Regions from separate parts of the Homo sapiens genome. Here region 2 is linked to region 1. Evidence: promoter capture Hi-C in 16 types of primary human blood cells and fetal thymus (Javierre and others, 2016). All regions are on one chromosome and are shown on one strand. The core of a region is centred on a gene start or on the middle of the fragment in contact, and the rest is flanking DNA. Distances in the headings are between cores, read along the strand shown.

Evidence for each region. Contacts are between HindIII fragments. The CHiCAGO score rates a contact against its expected background, and 5 or more counts as called.
Region 2: the fragment with the promoter of DYNLT1 here is called in contact with the fragment with the promoter of GINM1 in region 1 in 1 of 17 cell types (neutrophils); the score reaches 6.1 in neutrophils.

What each region holds. Positions count from the first base shown.
Region 1 is chr6:149,561,484-149,567,624 of GRCh38, reverse strand. GINM1 (glycosylated integral membrane protein 1) reads right to left here and starts at 1,250. Exons shown (of 8, transcript NM_138785.5): 1 at 1,091-1,250. The coding sequence starts at 1,210. RefSeq lists enhancers at 654-703, 1,954-2,083 and a silencer at 974-1,523. The HindIII fragment of the contact is 6,228 bases long and covers 1-3,350 here.
Region 2 is chr6:158,641,410-158,647,477 of GRCh38, reverse strand. It overlaps DYNLT1 (dynein light chain Tctex-type 1), which reads left to right and starts at 2,735. Exons shown (of 5, transcript NM_006519.4): 1 at 2,735-2,796. The coding sequence starts at 2,770. It also overlaps a transcript of SYTL3 not described here. RefSeq lists silencers at 2,578-2,807, 2,968-3,297 and an enhancer at 2,421-3,364. The HindIII fragment of the contact is 7,871 bases long and covers 1-4,778 here.

The DNA of each region.
Region 1 (6,141 bases), core at 1-2,500:
CCCTCACCCAGGCTGGAATGCAGTGGCACGATCTCGGCTCACTGCAACCTCTGCCTCCCGGGTTCAAGCAATTCTCCTGTCTCCGCCTCCCGAGTAGCTGGGACTACAGGCACCTGCAACCACGCCCAGCTAATTTTTCTATTTTTAGTAGAGACGGGGTTTCACCTTGTTGGTCAAAGTGACACTTACCGTGCCCTTCGCCTTTGTATTTAGAGTGTTCATATTCAAGTCTTGACTAGGAAGAGGTGTACCGACATAGTTTCTTGTCATTCTCAGAACACTTGCTCTTTAAAATATTCAAACTTTTCCCTACCATTCTACTGAAAAAAGGCTGATACTGGCCTAGGTAGGCACGACTCTACGGCAGGAATGGTGAGCATCAGCCACGTTTTAATGTTAGGATGCCTCGATTCTCCCACCTCAGCTGGCATCAGAAGCACCTGCAGGACTCTCCAACCCGGACTGCTGGGCCCCGCCCCCAGAGGCCGGGCTGAGTCCCCAGGGGATGCGGACACCGCCGATCGCGCCCCGCCGTGAGAACTTCTCCTCCAACATCCGACAAAAACATTACGTCGCGCGAGGGCCAGGTCTCTCCCTCTGCCCACCTGAGCCCGGCGGAGCCCCGCAGCCTCGGAACGGCGGACCCTCGCGATCGCAGGCCGAGCAGGCACAAGTGGCCTGGAAATGCGCGAAGTGGGCAACTTCCACACTTCCCGAGCACACAAACATTCCTTGCCCAAGCGCTGGCTCTACCCCGGGAAGGCGCCATTACGAAGGCCTGATCACCGGCAACCGCGCGCTTCGACGGCAAAGCCCCGTCAGGTCGCGCGCCGGCTTGGGCCGCCGGAGAGTCGGTGTGGAGTGGCTCGAGGCTCACTCACAGCGACGCAGCCCCAGTGGGTCCCTTTCCTCTTACCTCGGCCTCCCACGCCGCCCCCATTTCCTGGGGTGCTTCTCCCCACACCTCCTTCGGGGGCCCGGACCCCCGCCCCTGCCCGCCGGTGGGATGTGGGAAGCGTCACTGTGGACAGCCCGGGCCTCCCGGAGAGTCGGAGTCGTAAAGCGGCCAGCCAGGCCCGCCCTGCCCTACCTGTGGGGCTCCGGACAGCGGCGGCGGCTCGGGGGCGCCCGTCGTCAGCCAGCCGGAGGCGGGTAGCGCCACGAACAGCAGGAGCCGGAGGGCGAGCGACCCCGGTGGAGCGCCCTCCATCTTGGACAACCCGGGCAGAGGGCAGCCGCGGCCGGGAGGTGAGGGCGGAGCCGGCCCGCGGGCGGGACGGAGCTTCGGCGGGAGGGACGGGGAGGGGCGGGGAGAGACGGGGAGGGGCGGGACGGGCCCTCCCCTCCCCGGGCGGCCGCGGAGAGGCGCGGGGACGCTCCGAGATCCGGCTCGCCAGGGAAAGGCGTTTGCGCACGCGCAGCGCCGCGCGGCGTCGAGGGGCGGAGTGAAATCTTGGAAGGTACGGCCCCTCATTAGACCCGCCCTCAGGATTGGACAGGACTCCAACTGGAGCGATGTAAATGTCCTCGTAACCATTATTTTTAAAATTAGTATTTACACACATGCATGTGTCTGTGTGTGCACATGTACATGTACCTATACGATGAAAACAACGGTAATATTTCAGAAAACTGTTATACATTAAAAATGAAACATCGCATTTACAGGGGAAGTTTTTATTAAGTGGGTAATTCCCCACCCTTGGCTGCACGTGGGACTCTCCCGGGCAGCTTTAAAAAGTACTGGGGTCTTCCTGAACACCCCACTTTCCAGCCTGGGCTGCGGCTCGGGCCCTGGTGGTTTTTTAATTTTCTCGGGTGATTCATTGTGGGGCCAAGGTTGAGGATGCGCCATGCTTACTGTTCAGCATTCTGCCGACCCCTGGAGGCGGCGCGGGGACAGCGCTCAGCTGGAAGGAAGCCAGCGCACCTGGGCTGTCAGTGCCTTTTTGGTCAGTATCGTAACTCTAAAGTGAAAGTGTTAGACTTTTCTTCCACCTTGCAGATTTAAAAAAAAAAAAAAGTTACGGAACCCTGTAAAGCAGAGTAGCAAGAAATTCAAGCATTTTAGATTAACAGGATTGCATGTTGATTGAGAAAAACTTGGAAACTTGGCCATTCAGGCAGAATAAGAGTAATATTTAGTCTTCCTTTGAAATAAAACTTTTGACATGAAATAAAACTTTTGACATGAAAAAGGAAACAAGAATCTATTTCTCTCTTTGAGCCCCCTTTACTCCTTTGAACACCCTCCTCCCACAGGCCTGCTGACCGCCACCGCCCCCTCCCCCGGCCCCGCCCCAGAATAAATTATAAACGTTTTGGCTAAAGACTCCTTTCAACTAACTCCGGGCTTACTCTGAGATTCCCCACGCCATTGTTAAGCTACAAGTGATTTCACAGCGAAGCCCCACACACTTCTGGGTTCCATCTGCAAACTTGGCCTTTTCCTTTTTTTCCTACTGCTGGAATTAAAAATGAATTTGGAGATGGGCGTGGTCATTTGTGCCTGTACTCCCAGCTATGCAGCAAACGCAGGCAGGAGGATCGCCTGAGTCTATTAAAAAAAAAAAAAAAAAAAGGAATCTAGAAGCCGGGTGCAGTGGCTCACGCCTGTAATCCCAACACTTTAGGAGGCCGAGGCGGGTGGATCACTTGAGGTCAGGAGTTCGAGAATAGCCTGGCCAACATGGTGAAACCCCATCTCTACTAAAAATACAAAAATTATCCAGGCATACTGGCACGCACCTGTAATTCCAGCTACTAGGGAGGCTGAGGCAGGAGAATCGCTTGAACCCAGGAGGCGAAGGTTGCAGTGAGCCAAGATCGCGCCATTGCACTCCAGCCTGCGCGGTGGAGCGAGACTCCGTCTCCAAAAAAAAAAAAAAGAATCTGGAAGTCAGAAAACATGACATGTGGATCTGTATAATTTGAATTAGTAATATAAGGTTACAAAGTACGTCTATATGAAAAGATAATAGGTAAAGTTGAGGCTCTCTGTTTTCTTACAAAGCCTTTCCCATGGTCTAACTGTCCATTATTCTTTATTGTTTATCTGTCTCGTCAGATAGATGTGAGCTCCAGGAAGAGGGTGGCCAAACCTTAAAGCAAACAGCTTGCTAGAGTAAGCCCTCAGTGGGGGTTTGTTGGACAAATAATGTCTAAGTGGTTGACAGTATTATTTAATAATCAAAAATTTTACTGTTTTGTATGAAATGGTTCTCTTTAGGCCATTGTTTTGCTACATGCACCCATGAGCGCTACGGAATTTCATTTAAAAAACCCCATCATTTGGGGAAAAAGCACCATACCACAACTCTAATGAGTTACAACAAAACTTTAAACAAGCTTTGTGGCTGAGTTCCACTTGTCCATTGGAAAACTCAGCTTGGTTTACTGAGCCTTCACATTAATCTGAGAAACAAAAGACAGAATTAACTTGGCAGTTGCTTACACGACAAATAAATCTGTCAATGTTAATACGGTGAGTACTTTGATGTTCCTTTGAGTCAGCTCATGTCAACTTGATATCCTCTATCATAAAAAGAGTTCAAGTTGCCTGACAGCAACCCACTGCGGTTCTGTGCACATTAGATGCTTTCTCTTCTTTGAAGGTAATCTTTCATATAGGAGAAGATATTCTAAAATATTTCTAATACTACAGAAAACAAAGTATATATTAAAATGTCTTTATTCTTTCACCAGATAATACCTTTTGATTCCAAACCTTGATATATTTCCTTTTTCAGTAGCCGATTTCATTGTCATTTTCATCATTCCCACAATCAAAATTTGAGTCCATCTTTTTCTGCAATTTAAAGCAGGCTTGATGCCAAAAGGAAATCTGGGACCTGATTTGTATCTGTTTCCAGTTTCTGGGAGTGAGTGAGTCACTGCACTTCTATTACAACACAGTCTACTCCAGTATTTTCCAGAGTTAGTCATCTACATATTTTTGAACTTTTTGAAAGACCCCTAGAAGATGACAAGAGGGAGAGCAAGAAACAAAGATATTATATTTTATTTTTTTGAGACAGGGTCTTGCTTTGACACCCAGGCTGGAGTGCCATGGCAAGATAGATCATGGCTCACTGCAGCCTTGACCTCCTGAGCTGAAGCCATCTTCCTACCTCAGACTCCTGAGTAGCTGGGACTGTAGGCACATGCCCCCATGCCCTGCTAATTTTTTTTTTTAAGTGAAGACGAGGGCTTGCTAGCTTGCCCAGGTTGGTCTTGAATTCCTGAGCTGAAGCAATCCTCCTGCCTCGGCCTTCCAAAATGTTGGGATTACAGGCATGAGCCACTTTTTTTTTTTTTTTTTTTTTTTGAGACAAGAGTTTCATTCTTGTCACCAAGGCTAGGGTGCAATGGCACAATCTCAGCTCACGCAACCTCCTCCTCCCAGGTTCAAGCGATTCTCCTGCCTCAACCTCCCAAGTAGCTGGGATAACAGGTGCCCACCACCACGCCCAGCTAATTTTTGTATTTTTAATAGAGACGGAGTTTCACCACGTTGGCCAGGCTGGTCTCAAACTCCTGAACTCAGGTGATCCACCTGCCTCGGCCTCCCAAAGTGCTGGGATTACAGTCATGAGCCACTGTGCCTGGCCTAAAATATTTTAAAACTGCTTTTGCTGTAACTTTCTTGTCCATATATTTATGAATGAATTTAATTAGCTCATAATGATGGGTGATGCCTCTCATATGAAGAACAACTCATAGAAATATTATCATTGTAGTAGCCAGCATTTATTATGCTAATTGTGTTAAGTGCTTTATGTATATTATTTAAACCTTATAACAGCCTAATGACATGATTACAATTTATTATCCCATTTTTATATACAAAACAGAAATTTATAGAAATTAAGTGTTTTTCTCTGAGTTACAGAACAGTAAATGATGAAGCTGTGGTTTTAAACTCTGGCATTCTAAGCCAACACAGTATAATGAAACAAAAGGCATTTAGTTAATTTATATACATTTATAGAGATGATTATAAATTATTCTACTCATTAGCTTTCTAAAAATATGAGCTGGGTTGCACTTTGGGAGGTGGAGGCAGGCGGATCACCTGAGGTCGGGAGTTCGAGGCCAGCCGGGAGTTCAAGAAACCCCGTCTCTATTAACAACACAAAAATTAGCTGGGCGTGGTGGCGCATGCCTGTAATCCCAGGTACTCAGGAGGCTGGGGCGGGAGAATTGCTTGAACCCGGGAGGCAGAGGTTGCGGTGAGCCGAGATCGCGCCATTGCACTCCAGCCTGGGCAACAAGAGTGAAACTTCGTCTTAAAAAAAAAAAAAAAAAATATATATATATATATATATATATATATATATATATATATATATATATATATATAAGCTGTGTTGGGAGAAATGGAGAAACAGTAAAGTGTAAGAGAGCTATGCCTTCTCCACCATCACAGGAGCTAGAGGGGCTCCAGGGCCAAGATGCAGACCCTGCTCTCTGCTCCCTCAGCTAACTAGTTTCAACAACCTGAAAATCTGCAGAGACGTTTGTACTCAAGGATGCTAAAAATCATACTATAATTTAATATTTGGTACCCTAATAAAAATCCTGAAGATAAAAGATTAAAGGGCCGGGCGCGGTGGCTCACCCCTGTAATCCCAGAACTTTGGGAGGCTGAGGCAGGCGGATCACGAGGTCAGGAGGTCGAGACCATGCTGGCTAACACGGTGAAACCCTGTCTTTACTAAAAATACAAAAAATTAGCCGGGCGTGGTGGCAGGCGCCTGTAGTCCCAGCTACTCGGGAGGCTGAGGCAGGAGAATGGCATGAACTCGGGAGGCAGAGCTTGCAGTGAGCCGAGATCTAGCCACTGTACTCCAGCCTGGGCGACACAGCGAGACTCCGCCTTGAAAAAAAAAAAAAAAAGATTAAAATAAGTATCCTAAGGAATAAGAAATCTTATCAGGTTTCAGGTTTTAAAAAATAGAACATCTGTAACAGATACTGCAAGAAGAGTTTGTTTAGAGATCATTTCATATTCAGTAACCCAGATAAGTAGGTTATATTTGTGGTAAGATGCCATTTTCATTTGTCTTATTTGACTTTTTTTTTTTTTTCTGAGATGGAGTCTTGCTCTGTCACCCAGGCTGGAGTGCAGTGGCACGATCT
Region 2 (6,068 bases), core at 1,486-3,985, 9.1 Mb before region 1:
CATAAAGGCCATGTTTTAGTCAACTTTGTAGCCTCAACCCCCAGCTCAGAGCCTGACACAAAGGGAGTGCTCCATATATGTGTATTGAACAAGTGAACAGATAGTTGTGAAGATAAACAGACCAGCTCATCCGTTTACTGGCAGCCTCAAAATGTCATACATCGCGATCATTTAACAAATGTTCTTTAATAGTTAAAATTGGAGAGTGGTACCCAATGTATAAAAGCTAAAATCATGTAAGCATTTTTAAAATGCACATTTGCATGTTTTCTGTTGATTTATGTGCATGCTGGTGATCCGCAGTTATAACAAGATCCATGCATTAATTATGCACCATCCTAGCAGACATTCAGGAAATTGATTTAAATTAGGAAGTTCCTAAAAGGTTGTGGGGAAAATTGAAAAGGCTGTCCCAAGTGTCATGTTCTTCCATTGCAGGTGTTTGCTCAGAACCGGTTTACTCTTGCTTTGCACATAATTCTGTGACACTTAGCTACTGAACTCCAGGTCCACAACAAAGTAGCAGAAGAAAAAAGATTTCAGAGGCTCCTGATTGGCTCAGGATCGTGGTGGGGCCAAGAGCTTGGAACCAGGTAGGCAGAGAACATCCAAAACGAGATCTCAGGTGATACTGAGAAGGGCAGGCAGGCAAAGCAATGTCAGCATCAGAATCACATGTGGACTGAGGCGCACGACTGAAACACCAGGACAGGGGAGTTGAAGCCAGGTAATAAGAAAGGAATTCAAAAGGTAGATAAAGTTCAGAATCCAAGGAGAGGAAGACCAGGTGTGGTAAAGCAACCAGCCTGCCCAGCAAGTCTCCTCGCTCAGGCCGAACACCCAGGGCCAAGCAGCCTTGTGTCAGTCAGGGCTCTGCCCTCCTCTCGCCAGCCCTGTTTCCCTCAAGGAGGCAGGTAGTTGCATCTTCCTCCACTCCCCAGTTCTCTCCATTTGGGTCTGAGGCAAAGCTAACACCCATGAGGGAAATGATTCATGCAATAAATTTTAGGCCGGGCATGGTGGCTCACAGCTATAATCCCAGCACTTTGGGAGGCTGAGGCTGGAGGATCCCTTAAGCCCGGGAGTTTGAGACCTGCCTGGGCAACACAGTGAGATCCCATCTCTACAAAAGACATATTAAAAAAATAGGTGGGTGTGGTGGCTAGTGCCTGGAATCCCAGCTGCTCAGGAGGCTAAGGCAGGAGAATACCTTGAGCCCAGGAGTTCAAGCTCTTAGTGGTCTTTGGATGACTAAACTTCAACACATCTTAGCTCAAAATCTCCGATCACACCACTGCATTCCAGCCCGGGCAACAGAATGACACCCTGTCTCTAAATAAATAAATAAATAAATGTTAATTGTGTAGCTATTATGTGCCAGGCACAATGTGGAAGGAAGGGGATACATTAGTGAATAAAACAGATCCTTCCTGCATGGTACTTAGTTTCTAAATGGAGACACACCATCAACAAGCAACCATAAATACGTTCTTGCAAACTGAGAGAAGTGCTATGAGGAAAATGTACAGGATGCAGGGGTGGAGGATGAGGAGGTCGGCTACCTTAGATGCCGTGGTCACAGAATGGCTCTCTGTAGGAGATTTTGAGCTAAGATATGTTAAAAGTTTAGTCATCCAAAGATCACTAAGATTAGTCTATAGTCTGACAACTTAGTAACTATTGACTTATGGCAGGGCAGAATGGGTGAGGGGAGGGAGGAGTCGTTGGGTTAGGTTCCTCTTGAAGGGCTCTAATAAGACCCTGATAGACCGACCAGGTTACAGTCCGATGGTCATAATCCAGATGAGAGATATCAATCTTTAACTGGGGTCCCGAGCATATGGGGTAGAAATAACAAGGGTTGTTGATGGATTAGATGTGGGATTTGAAGTTTAGGTCTACCAAATCCCTGGGACCCTTGCAGTCAGCTCTTTCTTGGGGAATGGGAAGTGGGTTCCAGCAACCTGAATTCAAGTGCATGACGAAACCAGAAAAAGCAAACGCCAAAATCAAAACTCGGAGCCTCAGAATACCTGCCAATAGATGCATATGCCCCAGCTTTCCGTGGAGGGCAGTTTACCAGAGCCCAGTGCAATTCCTAATTTCCATAAAGAACCCACATACAAATAAAGTCTGTCTAGTTCACTATGGTTAAGGTAGTCAGGAAGTGTGCCACATTTTACAAAATTTTCCACCCAAAATGTTTTTTTTTAATGGTGCTTAAAGGAAAAATTCTCATTTACCTGGAAAACTTAACTCCCCAAAGGGAAGTTTCGTTCAGATAGCTAAAGCATGCCAATCCCAGTCCCCAAGGGAACTGCAACAACGTCTCACCGGGCGCACTGCCTTCAGCAGTCACTTTCGAGTTTGTTGCCAGGTGTCCGAGCGGGTTTGAACGTCCGCGTCAATCCACACAGTACAAACCGGAGGAGGGGCCGGGACCACGCTTCCCCTCCAGGACTGCCTTTTGTACGTGTGTTTTGTTTCTGTTGCTAAGGTTTAGGGAGCTGCCCGGCTACCCTCACGGATTCCCATGGAAACTACCACCTCCCAGAGGACAGGAGGAGAGGCGAATTCAGGGTCCACCCACGGGCCCCGCCCAGGGATGGGGTCACTGAGGGTCCGGGCAGCGAAGGGCGGGGCCCGGGAGCTGGGCATGGGCGAGGCAGGCGCGAGAGGAGAGGGGCGTGGCAGGTCCGGGGCGGGGCCTGAGTGCGCCTGCGCAGTCCGCGCCACTCAGGGAGCCGGAGGGGACGCGCCGGAGGAAAGATGGAAGACTACCAGGCTGCGGAGGAGGTAACCGCCGGGTCGGCGACGGAAGGGTGGAGGCCTAGAGCCCTGGCCGCGGAAGGACACGCGGTCCTGCCCGGAAAGGCCTGGCTGCCCACCTCCTTCAGCTAGGCCAGTCTCGGCAGCCCACGGCCTGAGCTTCCCGGTCGCCGGCGCTCCGCCCGGCCCCATTCTGCCCGGACATTGCCGCCGTTTCCCCGGCGCGGGGGGCGGGAAGGGGATTGAGCTTCTTCCCGCGCGGGGAGGCACCGGGCGTGACTCGGAGAGAGCGCCCCGGTGAGCGGTGCCGAGAAACCTTCCCGCAGGGCCTCGCCTCCGGCCCGCAGCCAAGCTCGCCGAGAGGATGACATCACCGCCCCTTGCTCTGCGGGGCTGACCCCAGCCCCAGCCCCAGCCTGGAGCGGGGCGCGGCGGCCGGGCTGGGAGCGCCGAGGCTTGGACGTCTCCCCGCGGAGGTGCGGGTGACGCTCCCGCCGCCAGCCCCTCCGCCCCGGGCTGGCGTCCCGGCCATCCCGCGCCTTTGTCTCGGGCCTCACCTGGTTCTGCAACGCTGGGAATGAGTAGCACATTTCATTTCCGTTTAATATGTCTGTAAGAAAGCTCATTGTTGTGGGGAAAAAATCATCTTTTATGCCTCCTTGAGGAAGTAGGATAAAGCCCACGATGTCGCCAAGCAGAAGACACCCATCGGCACCGTGTGCGTTAAATGGCTTTCCTTCAAGCTCACGGTCATTCGGGGAATAGAGCTGATGGGCGCAGCTGAGATACAACACTCATTTTCTTCTTACTGAATAATCCTTGTTGAAATTCAGATAGAGCCCTATGGATTTATTATGCAGCCTGTCAAAAATATAAACTATAGATACATTTGGTAAGGTTGGATATCTTACCATTTATGAAATTTAGTGGCTGGGCGCAGTGGCTCACGCCTGTAATCCCAGCACTTTGGGAGGCCTAGGCGGGCGGATCACCTGAGGTCAGGAGTTCGAGAGCAGCCTGACCAACATGGAGAAACCCCGTCTCTTTTAAAAATACAAAATTAGCCGGGCGTGGTGGCGCATGCCTGTAATCCCAGCTATTCGGGAGGCCGAGGCAGGAGAATCCCTTGAACCTGGGAGGCAGAGGTTGCCGTGAGCCAAGATCGCGCCATTGCACTCCAGCCTGGGCAACAAGAGCGAAACTCCGTCTCAAAAACCAAAAAAAAAGAAAAAAATTTCGTTTAAGGAGGAATGTTTTCAGGGAAAATAAAACTAAAACTTAAGGACTGATTCTAGAGTTTCAGTTTTGATCTGATTTCCTAACTAGCACACACTTCCTGTGACAGTGGCATAATCAGTGTTTGAATGCTGATGGCAACCAAGTGAATAATGACGAGAAGAGCTGGTTCAGGAGCAGTTGGCAAAGAAAAAAGCCTTTCCCCTTAAACTGTTACTAATATAATATTGGAAAATGTCTTGTATTACAGTAATATCGAGTAAAACTTCTAAAAAAGAAATCGCTTTGTAAAGGAAAGCGCTTAATACTGCAGTCCGATTCTGACTCCCACAAATAAGGTGGCTAAGTGGCTTCATTATTCGAGATCTCAATCGCATATGTGTAAAATGAAGGGGCTGGACAGAGTGATGAGTGTTCTACCTGGGATGGAGGCCCTGGGAGGTGGAGACCATGGCTGTCTTGTAGTAGGCATGTCTTAGGTATTTACTGAATGGCCCGTTCTGGTCCTCCCACCAGCCTCTTAGCAGCCTTTTCTGCATCTCTTCTAACTTCGTGTAGATGCCTGGGCCTTTGTAACTATTCTCTCAACTCACCATTCATCTTTCTTGGAGACGTTAAAACTATCCACTGGATTCAATACAACTCTGCTTTCCACTAAAAATTCTTTAAAATGTCCCTCAACCTTTTTCGTACTGTAACCATATGGGAGGTGATACAGTGCCTTTCCTTTGTGATTAAGGTCACGGTAGTCACTTGGAAGGATCCTTTAAGCTTCCAGAAATGACTTAATCTCTAAGATATTGCAAATTGTTCTTCACTCAGTGAGTTGGTTTTGTTTCCAAGTCCGACTTCTGAGTACAGCAAGTGAGGTGGCTTCGGGCAGTCAGCTCCTGAACCCCCTAAAAAGAAAGGGCAGGGCCTGCAGTGGACAGCAGCCAGACAGGGAGGAAGACTCACTGCCAAGTCAGGGTTCTCTGCCTTGATTCCCTCAGGATGCACGTTGACTGAGGGCCCCAGGGGTTGCCCTCTCGAAGGCGTGTCCAGAGCTACGTACCTTTCCTGGGACTCAGCAGTAACTTTAAACGCTTGTGCTCATGTGAAGAGCACATTGGCAGGCAAGTGCCTGACTAATGTTATTTTCAGGATGACCTTTTACCCATTCAGATCTACCATGTGTAAAAGGAAAACTATACTCCTGGCACTAGATTCCTGCAGGCAGCCCACCTCCTGAGTCATCCAGACACTGACAGAGAACAGCCATGCTGGCAGCTGGTGGTTAGTCCTGGAGTCGGAGGGCAGCACTGGGAAAGAAAAATAATTACCTGGAGATAATGTAATCATCGTACATTTTACAAGTAATGGTGCTTTAAAAAAATCTCCTCAAGGTCAAACTGATCCTCCTAATCAGTTTACATCATGGAAGAGAGAATTACATCTTAAATGGATTACTTCAGCAGCTTCAGTTAATTTATACAAAAATCAACCAACTCATTAAGCCTCTCTATTGGTTAATGATTCTAGCAGCCAGTTGAAATGGAAGAAGAGAATGAATTCTAGTTTAAAGTGAAGTCTTAGATTGTGGCATGATTAAAACAAAACAGGGCCAGGTGTGGTGGCTTACGCCTGTAATCCCAGCATTTTGGGAGGCTGAGGCGGGAGGATCACCTGAGGTCAGGAGTTCGAGACCAGCCTGGCCAACATGATGAAACCCCATCTCTACTAAAAATACGAAAATTAGCCGGGTGTGGTGGAGGGCACCTGTAATCCCAGCTACTTGGGAGGCTGAGGCAGGAGAATCACTTGAACCTGGGAGGCAGAGATTGCAGTGAGCTGAGATTGCGCCACTGCATTCCAGCCTGGGCTACAGAGCGACACTCCGTCTCAAAAATAAATAAATAAAAATAAAACAATACCTTTAAATTATGTGCATGTATTCTAGTCTTCTGGTTTCTGAAGACTGTAATGCCATCCTTGGTAAAGCTGAACAGTCTAGTTAGATTATTTCTAAGGTCTTCATTTCTACATTATGTTCATTACCTACATTTGCATTTATCAATGTAGTG